Linked DNA regions of Homo sapiens: region 2 is linked to region 1. Evidence: promoter capture Hi-C in human tissues and cell types (Jung and others, 2019). All regions are on one chromosome and are shown on one strand. Each heading gives the region's core, a stretch centred on a gene start or on the middle of the fragment in contact. The rest is flanking DNA. Distances are from core to core; before and after follow the strand shown.

Region 1 (5,551 bases), core at 2,522-5,021:
TTATAGTGTTACTATCAGATTATAATATTATATCATAGTATTATTCTGATAATTAAAACATGTTTTAATTCTGGCACAATAAAAACTCTCAACAGATATAGCTATCATTGAGGGATTTTCTGCCCCTTGAGGTCTAAGTAAATGTGACTCAATGTTCCCATTTCACAACATGCAGAAGTTCAACTTATTATGGAGAATTTTGCATAGTTTTAGGAAGTTTATGTCCTTGTGGTCATCTGTGCCTCTGGGTTTCTGCTTTTAAGAATGAAAATAAAGTTCCACTTCACTGACCTAGACTTGTTTTTTTTTTTTAAAGAAAATAGTAGGTTGAAGAAATTTGTGTTTATGGACACATAGGTACCTTTAGGGAGGTAGGATAGGGGTTAAGAGCCAAAAATACAATTTTCAGAACAAGTTTAAGTTCTCAGATCTGATGTTAAGAGTAGTTTGATATTCAACAAGTTATTTGTACTTTCTGATTCTCATTGATCACATCTGTTATATGGACATAATAAATTTGTACTTTCATCAAAAGGTTAGTAGAAAGTTAGTATGATAATGTATGTAAAGTGCTGCATTGGAGTGCCTTTTACAGCTCAATGCTTGGTGGCTGTTATTACATAGTGTAAAGATCAGTAGCATCCCTCTGCTGAACGTTCAAGTAAGATTGAATTCAGGAATCTATCAATTGCCTGGTTGGTGGAAGTTTAAGTTCTTTGCCAATGTTTCTGCAAATCCCAGAGGCTTGTAATCTTTTATGATCAATGCCTGCAAGCTTTTGCTTCTGTTATTCTTCATATTGACCCAGATGTGCAACTGAGTCCTTCTCCAGTTACTTAGGTAAGGCAGTCCCTGTGTGGTGTATGGTTTACTAAGGATGTTTGGAGTAGTTTGGCTGTTTATTTTGGGGGGAGTTTATACTTGCATGAAGGGCACATTTGTAACTATTGTAAATATCCTCTGACAAACATGTCTCTGGGAAGTTTCCATGTTTACTTTATCACCATGTAATCTCCAATTCACTCTAGCTGACTCTTCTCTCCCATTTGGAGAGGGTATTGGAGAGAAGCTTCTTATCTTTTGTGTGATTCTCATGACCATGGCCTTCTTGTTTGAACTTCATGTGGAAGGGCATCAAAATGACACGTTCACGAATCTTGCATTTTCCCCTGAGTAGCCTTCCAGAGCCTGAATTACCTTCCAACTCTGTGGGGCCCAACTATGCTTTGGTTCTTATTCCTCTGTGAGATCTGGCTGCACAGCTGAGATTTATGTCTTCTTTTTACCTCATGAATTCTTACAGCAAATTCCTGTGCCAATGTTGAATTTTACCTGAGCCCTGTGCTCCTGGAAAACAGTGACAGTTAAAGAAATCCCTCCACTCTTTTGTGTTCTGGAAAAGAATGAACTTTGTCCCACCCTCAATCTGAGTTAACACATAACCCCTCCTTAATGACCCCTCTGGAGCGTCAACTGATAAAATACATTCTTTGATCAACTCTTCAGTCCTGCTACTGTTACTAGCTCATCCCACTTCTGCATATCTGTTTCTTTCTAGCCTCATTCATGTTCACTTCTCTTTATGAAAGAAAATTCCTTTTCTGTCTGACATTTGACACTTTTGTTGGTCTCACAATTGAGACATTCTCCCTAGTGTAATAGTCTCCCTTGCATTATTGCTATAGACCATTTCCCCACTTTTGCAGTAATATCTCTCCTTACCTAAGACCAGATTGGATTTTTATTTGACATCTGTTACTTAAAAGTATGTGTGTTTCTCTGTACCTTGCAAACCTAAAACAATCCAATTAACAGGAAATTGCCCTCCAAATACTTGTATTGCCTGTGTTATTTTGTTTCCTTAGACCCTGCTGATCTTTGGCCTTCAGATTGTTGACTTAAATCATGTAGTACATTATCTTTGTTTTTAAGTCCAGTAGGCTGGTTCATGGTGTATCAGAAGTAGAAATTTGTTGAAAGAGCAAATGAATTCATAAATCTCTGAGTTGCAAGATAATTCATGGACTAGCAGTGACTAATATTTCTCAGAACTCACAAATGAGCAAAAGTGTTTCTTTCCTACCCAATTTGTTTTTCTGGTTGGAAGACTGTCTTCAAAGTCTGTTAAGGAAGAGAACTGCCCCAGCAGTTGGAGGCATCTGCTACTAAGGTTACTGGGACCTAACACATACCTCCCGGGAAAACAGTGCAGTTGAGTTTGGGTCAAATGAAATTAATGAGAGATTTAAGGTACAGTCAGCTTTGCCAGGTGGGAAGCAGGAAGAATACTGAGATGCCATACTCTTAGGAACCTGACCTGGCACTGATTCACTAAGAGTTATCTAGTGGGATGATTTTATTTGTTGAGACTATGACAACTATAGAAGCCAGGCTTTAATCTTTGAGGAAATGCAGAGGAAGGAGTCACAGTTCTGACATTTATAATGGGAGAAAGAGAGAGACCTCGTTATTGAGGAGCCCCTGGGCTAATATGATGAAGCGACACACACACACATACACACACACATGCACACACGCACGCACACACACACAGAGTAGCTCAAAGACATTCAAGCAGCTTTACATTACTATACAAGAAAACCCAGCTGCATGAATAGGGATACTCAGGAGATTACAGTGATCCAACTTAGTTTGTAGGCATTATATTCAGGAGTAGCTTCAATACATGCAATAAACATTCTTCTGTAAGGAATGAAACACCATCATTGAAGGTACTATCCTTTCAGAATCTAATAATCATTTCAGAATCACATACCCATTAATAACCTATAGTCCAGGGCAAGAGATCTGTGGTATTCTCTTAAGACCTTAGGTCTTTTACTGACATTTCATCCTGTGCATCAACTTTGCCAAACCCTGCTTCATGTCTTTGTTCCTCAGACTATAGATAAATGGATTTAGCATAGGAGTCAGTACGGTGTAGATAATTGTTGCTATTTGATCCTTGACAGTATAGTTGGACAGGGGCTGAAAATAGAGATAGCTAATGCTTCCATAAAACAGGGTCACCACTGTGAGATGAGAGCCACAGGTAGAAAATGCTTTACGCTTTCCAGCAGCTGAAGGAATCTTCAGAACAGTGATGAGGATTCTTAAATAAGAGATGATGATGCATGAAAACGGGGTCATTATGACAGCCAAGCCTTCTGTCATTACTGTGATTTCTTTGACAAAATGGGAGGAACAGGACAATTTTAGCACTGGTTGATCATCGCAGAAAAAGTGATGGATGACATTTGAGGCACAGAAGATGAGCTGATTAGTCAGAAGAATGTGCAGGAGGGAGTGAAAATGTGGAATGCAGAAGGAGAGAACCAGAAGCAGGACACAGCATCTGTGACTCATAATGGTGATGTAGTGGAAGGGATTACATATGGCCACATAGCGGTCAATGGCCATGGCTGCTAGCAGGTAACTGTCTGTGTTTCCAAAGGCTAAGAAAAAGTACATCTGGGTCAGACACTCACTGTAAGAGATGGTCTTTGTCTCTGATAAGAAGTTCACCAGCATCTTAGGGATAATGACTGTCACATAGCAAATGTCAACAAAAGACAGGATGCTTAGAAAGAAGTACATGGGCGTCTGGAGACGAGTGTCTGAGCGGATGGCCAGGATGATAAGCAGGTTTCCTATCACTGTGATAAGGTAGATGGGGAGGAACACAGCAAAGAGCGGCTTCTGATCCTCAGGTCGAGAGGAGAGTCCAAGGAGGATGAATTCAGAGGGTCTTGTTAGGTTATTTCTTCCCATAGTTGTGGGTTCACCTAAAGATAAACTAACACTGTAACAGATTCTTCCAACATCTGATACAATCTGTCCAAAATTTCTCCTTTTATTCTTCTTATCAGCAAAGAAAAAATTTAAAACATTACAATTATCTGGATTGTGGTTTCTTTCCATTAATGTGGGATATTTAGAAATTAATATATATTTTAATCTCAGTTGCCTGCTATAAAGAAACAAATTACAGGGAAACAGAAATGGGAAAAAGAGAAAAGAAGAGATATAGGGCAAGAGGAAGGAGTGAGTGCAAGAGAATTCCCAGAAGGAGAGGAGGGGAATCCTGGAGAAATTATTCTCTTCTTTTTCTGTATATATTTATCGTATTCACGGTTTTCAGTAATTAGTTTATGACAGGTTTAAAAAAGTTTCATCTCTCAATTTCCAGCTGATGGAATAATGATTTCCCTTAGTTCGGATACTTCTGTCTGCATCAGTTATTCTGGAGGCTGGCAATCATGTAAAAAGACATTGAAATATGAGATTACCCAACAGTTACTCCATTTCCCTCATTTTTTAGTGAAACCTTATTTGAGTGAAAGGATAGGTATGAAGAGGCAAAAGATAGACAGAAATAACAGGATAGTAAAAACATTTCTTTTCCTTATTTTTTTTTTTTTGAGACAAGGTCTTGCTTTGTCACCCAGGCTGGAGTGCAGTGGCACAATCTTAGCTCACTGCAACCTCTGCCTCCTGGGTTCAAGCGATTCTCCCCCCTTAGCCTCCTGAGTAGCTGGGATTACAGGCTTGTGCCACCACACCCAGCTAATTTTTGTATTTTTAGTAGAGATGGGGTTTCACCATGTTGGCCAGGCTGGTCACGAACTCCTGATCTCAAGTGATCCGCCCACCTTGGCCTTCCAAAGTGGTGGGATTACAGGCATTAGTCACCGCACCCGGCCAACATTTCTTTTAATGTAACATAAACCTCATTTTTGTTATCCAGCCCCTAAATGCTAAAATCGTCATTGTTAGTGCATGCTTGTCTGTGTTGGTGTAATTCTTTTCCCAATTCCAGTCTCAGTTATATATATGCTTCCCCAAAAAACCACACAGAGAAGGCACCTGATTCTAGACAAGCTTTCAACCCTCATGAAGCTGAAGATTTTCCTCTCTTCCTCCTCTGGGCCTCCCACATGCTGAAGAGATTAAAGACACTCATAGACCCCACCCTCTGTCAAGGGAGCATCCTTTGAGATCATCAAGAAGTCCCTGGAGTTCAGATGGAGAAGACAGCAGAAAACAAGCCAAGAACTATTACGGTTTTGGAGTTTCTTCCCCAAGGAGCCTGGGGAGTGTCAGTGCCTTCTCTCTCTCTCAGAAATCACCCTCCTGACCTAACTCCTTTTGGTGAAAAAGACCCCACCTGTGTGAGGCTGGCTCAAGTGACAGACTTCCTGAGCCTCACCGCTGTGCTGCTTACATTGAAAGACAGAATGTGGGGTTGGAGAACGTTTTCTCGGAATTCGTTGATCATCAAGCTAAAACAACTAGAACATCTTATGCCACTAGTCACTTTCCCATCTCCCAGTGTTAGAAGCAGTCCCTTGCTAGACACTGTTCTTAGAACTTTAAAATATAATAAGCAATAGGGTTAAGACTTTAGACCCTAGGCCTGGAATCTTTACTCTTCTGTCTGAAGCATCCTTAAGTCTACTTATGTATGACCCTTGCTTCTCACTCAGGAAAGCCATCAGGGCATATATATATAGCGTTAGCTATTAATTTTATTACAGTTGTAACACACAAA
Region 2 (5,185 bases), core at 1-2,500, 170 kb after region 1:
CCATTCCCACCTTTTATTTGCATTGCTCCTAGTCATGTCACCGAAATCCTCATTATTACTAAATCCAATGAATGGTTTCAGCACTTAACCTTGGCTCTACATTTTTATATTCTCCTTCTCCATCTCTGGTTGTTATTTGATGTCTTTTGGGGGCTTTATTTCTCTGCTACTATCTTAATTGTCAATGTTCCCTGTGGTCTGTCCTCAGCAACTATTCCCTTCCCTTTCCTTGCTTTTCTCCCTTCTCCTTTCCTCTTCTCTCCTCCCTTTCTCTCCCCTCCTTCTTCTTTTTCCTCAGCTTTTACTAACCTCATTTGTTTTCAGGCAATCTCATCCTCCTCTATGTTGACAGTCCATGAATTTCTATCTCTATCCAAAATATATCCACCTGCCTACTAAATTTGTCTCATGGATGACCTATAGGTACCTCATACTCTATGCAATACAACTTCTCAAATCTTTTTCTTCTATATTGCCTTCAGTGAATAGCACAACCATACACTCAGCTGTCCAAGCCATAAATTTAGAGAGGTTTTCAACTCCTTTGTTCTCCTTATTTTCTACATTCTTATCAAAATCAACTCACATCAAAATTACTATATCCATTAGATTCTGACTACGGAGACTTAAATCAATATAGTTCTAACATCATGGTCACTCTCTTATACACACTTTCATAATCTCTTACCTAAATGACTGTCATCTTCTCCTAATGAGTCTCTTTGCTTCTGGTCTTGCATTCCACTACCCCATGCCTGCTCTGCCAACATGTCCTCTGCCCACTGCAAACACATGCTCATTATCCACTCCTGAACTATACCAACTGTGTTTAGTATGATTGTCAATCTGCTGATCAAGTCCTTCCATGGCTCTTTCTTTCCTTTTGAGTAATATGCAAATTCTTCAATATGGCTTCTAAGGTCCTGCATGATTTATTCCTTCTAGTTTCTCTGGACTCATCCTGAACCTCTTCCCCTGTTCAAGTGTACATTTTAGCCACTCTAATTTTTCTGACAATTGTTTCCTAAATTTGCCATCCTTTCTCTTCTGTAGGTCTTTTCCTATTCCTCTGTTTCTCTCCCTTTCACTGCTCTGCCTCTATGTTGTTGACATCACCTTCTACTTGTTTTGATTTTCTTGAGTTTCTGCTTACTTGTAACTTTCTACAAGCCTACTTGCTGTTCTGTGTGGGAAACGCATGAGGGGAGAAGAAAAGACACACACAAAATACCTTTAAGGGTAAACAAGCTTTATCCCACGTAAATGGCAATGCAGATATAACAAGCCAATGATATAATAAGCAAATTGATATAATAAGCAAGTTGCAATGGGAAGGGGATAAAGGAAAAGAGATATATATATATTTACACTCACCACCCCACATTGGATGGGGAGATGCATTTGGGGATGGCCATTAATTCCATTCACCATCTGGGATAATATTCCCTCCCCAGTAATCTAGATGCTTACAAACATCACTGGTTATGAATGTGCCAGACTCCCTGATGATGGTACCCTATCACAGTATTCTCCCCTGCCACCAGTACAATCCTGCTTCAGCAACAAATTAAAATATTAAGCTTACATGTAGAAAAAGCTCTTAATGATAGTAGCACTGGACTTATGTTATCAGATGAATTTGCTCAGCCGTGCACTGTTGTGTTGCAAAATCGAGAGGCATTAGATATGCTTACCACAGCCCAAGGAGGGGTTTGTGCCTTACTGCATACTAAATGTTATGTGTCTATCCCTGACAATTCTCACAATATTACTCTCCTTGCAAAGCTATCGTAGGTGTGGTTTTTATTAATTGCGTTTTTAATTCTCCTGTGCTTACCATGTATCTGTAATCTATCAACTGTGCCTTCCCCATGTATCTGTAAGGGTATTTTCCTACAACTGAGTATCAAATTGAGGCCCAATGTGGAGAAAAAGTTAAATATTAAATTTGAACTCAATTGAACGTGGACACAAACAATGGTCACCAAGTCCGGGAACAGGTTGTGTGAGCCCCTTGAGGCATTCATCCAGCACTGTTTCGGAGAAATCTCTATTTCAATCTATTCCTATACATTGGTTATTGAAAAACAATAGATAATTGCAAAAACAAGTTGATCTTTTTGTGTTCCTTGAGCCCAGTCGCAAAGGGCCCTCGTCACTGGGCCTCATGCAAAACAACTTCTTACAAAAAGAGCTAGGGTCCCAGACCCTAGCACCGAAGCTTCATGAAACCTCTCCTTGTCTGTGCACGGACAAGTGGCCGACTCTGGAGCCCAGGCTGTTTCTTCCCAGTCTGGTGGTGAATCCTCCACAGTCTGGTGAGTTTTGTATCTGACTCTGGAACCCAGGCTGTTGCTTTCCAGTCTGGTGGTGAATCCTCCGTAGTCTGGCGAGTGTAAATATATATATATATATTTATATATGGAATAAAGGAATGGTGTGTGTGTCTTTTCTTCTCCCCTCATAAGTTTCCCACACAGAACACTTGCTTGATGCCTTTAATTTGGGTTTGATGCCCCCCTTTGTGTTCCCACAGCACTCGGCTCTTACCTTCATTACAGTGTCTGATGTGGACGGTTTTGTCGATCTCATTCAATGGATTGGGAACTCTTTGGGGACAGAAAATTGTGTTTTCCCATGGACACAGAGATGGGAACATCACACACCAGGGCCTGTCAATGGGTGGGGGGGTTAGGGGAGGGATAGCATTAAGAGAAATACCTAATGTAGACGATGGGTAATGGGTGCAGCAAACCACCATGACATGTGTATACCTATATAACAAACCTGCACATTCTGCACATGTACCCCAGAACTTAGAGTATAATAAATTTTAAAAAAAGAAACTTGTGTTTTCTTTACTTACAGTGCCTCACAAAATTCTTGCCACATCATATTTATACAATATTCTTCTGAATGAGTAAATGAATGCACAAATTATTCAAAGAAATAATGAAAAAAGCAATCTCCTCCACTTAATTCTCCGTCTCTTTTATATTTTTGCCAACCTGAATGTAGCAGGTTTCTGAAGATTCTCACACTCATTTTTATGGTCAAAGAATACTTTTTGAGCCCTGAGTCTGTTCCAACTATTATTATGTGTCATCACTAACCAAAAATAAATCCTGCATGTATTCAGGTGTTTCCCATGAGGAAAATAAATCTCTAGTCCTTGAAAAGTGTTCTTAATCCTCAGGGACTAGTAACACCTCTCCTTCCAGTTCCAAATTGAATGTGGGAAGGAGGAAGTCTGTATAGGCCAGGAGCGGTGGCTCACGCCTATAATCCAGGCACTCTGGGAGGCTGAGGCGGGCAGATCACCTGAGCTCAGGAGTTTGAGACCACCCTGGGCAACATGGCAAAACCCCATTTCTACTAAAAATACAAAAAATTAGCTGGACGTGGTGGCACACACCTGTAATTCCAGTTACTTGGGAGGCTGAGGCATGAGAATCACTTGAACCCAGGAGGCAGAGGTTGCAGTGAGCTGAGATCATGCCACTGCACTCCAGCCTGGGCAACAGAACTGTCTCAAAACAAAAATAAAACAAAAACAAAACAAACAAACAAAAAACCCAAAAGAATTATTTAAAATATAGAGCTCACTAATATAAGGGAGGCAACATGGAAGAAAGCCTAGAATGAAACCAGGCTTTAGGTTTGAAGTTAATGTGTTTATGTTTGAATACTCATTTAACCATTTACTTTTGAGACATTGTCAAACTCAATAAATGGGAAAAATACTATCTACATCAAATATTATTGTGATGCTTAAAAAATCTTATAGATGTGAAAGTTCTTTATAAATAAAAAAAATCTGTACATAATAAAAGTTCTTATTTATATTCCCATAGGAGTTGACTGTCCTTGGTGTCCGGCAAAGGCACATTTCAACTGGGAATATTAAGGGAAATACAGTAATTAGCCCCTAACTGTGTCTCACCACAGACTTCTGGCACCAGTCCCCTGGGTTCCCATCCAGGCAGGTAAAGGGAGATACTCTTGCTGTAGCCTTGTGGCTGGTGAAAAACAAAGAATGTGCCTCTTCTCCACTTCAGGGTTGAGCTCATGACTTTTCTCACTGTTCCAGCTCTAAGACTTTTGGAGAGAAAATGAATGATTGGTTCATACCAAGGAGCTGACAATATTTGAATTTATCACTGAACTAGGTAAGACCAATGCTTACAGACTCCATTAAGCAGTTTGTGTGTGTGTGTGTGTGTGTGTGTGTGTGTGTTAATCATCTCCTCCAAAATCTTGCAGATGAGTACACATGTGCCAGGTGGTTTATATAATTTTTGTATTACATCAAATAATTTAGGGTGGACATCATTATTATTATTCTCTGGTGTTTGTACTTTCCTCTTTAGGAAAATGTTCTCTCACAGTTTTGCTGAATATCTGGCCTGCATCCCAGCTATGAGCACATTCTTCAAGGTTTAAAAAATAATAATAATCTGCATTTTTATAAATAGTTATAAACATACCTACATGCAATTTCCTATTATGTCCTTTAAAAATTATATCATAAGCTTTTAATGAATTTATTTTATTGACTACATATTCTTTTCAATAATGTGTACCATAGTTGCCTTAACCTTTCCCTTACTGATGGAATATAGGTATCAACAACAACACTGGCCAGGGTCTTATTTGTTTTTTTCCTGGGACCCCGAGAAATTTACTTTCTGGGAAGCTGCCTTCGTAAATCCAGTAACTGATTTCCTGGTTTCTCTATTCTCTTCTGATCATCTGATTAAAGACTGAAGCAATACATCTATGCAAAGGCTTTTAAGAAATTACAGATTCCACCTCTTTAATGACAGGTGCATATCCAGATGTCTTTTCCATCAATGCTCTGCTGGAGGCAATACGACATGATGATTAGCAGCATGAGTTTGAAATCAGACAAACACAGGATTGAATGACCTCCCCATCATTTTCATGATGTAGAATTTTAGGCAAATTATTTATACTCTGTAAACCCTACTTTCCAATTGGTTAGATGAGAATAATGCCATTTTGTGATCCTGTTAGGCTGATATGATATAAATTGCATCACAGCAGCTGGCCTATATTATTATTCACACAATAAATATGTGATTAATGAATGATTGCTATTCTAATTTTTATTATCAGTATTACTGACATCACCATCATGGCACAAATCTTGAAACTATAGATT

What was found. Contacts are between HindIII fragments. The study calls those that stand out against the background at their distance.
Region 2: a fragment that was not itself captured here is called in contact with the fragment with the promoter of OR1L1 in region 1 in 5 of the 25 tissues and cell types used here (dorsolateral prefrontal cortex, heart right ventricle, mesendoderm cells and 2 more).

What each region holds. Positions count from the first base shown.
Region 1 is chr9:122,659,936-122,665,486 of GRCh38, reverse strand. It overlaps OR1L1 (olfactory receptor family 1 subfamily L member 1), which reads right to left and starts at 3,771. Exons shown (of 1, transcript NM_001005236.3): 1 at 2,839-3,771. The coding sequence starts at 3,771. The coding sequence ends at 2,839. The HindIII fragment of the contact is 8,013 bases long and covers 1-5,551 here.
Region 2 is chr9:122,486,511-122,491,695 of GRCh38, reverse strand. It overlaps a transcript of OR1J2 not described here. Among named protein-coding and RNA genes, the nearest start is that of OR1J1, 11 kb to the right of the region's middle. The HindIII fragment of the contact is 4,254 bases long and covers 1-3,377 here.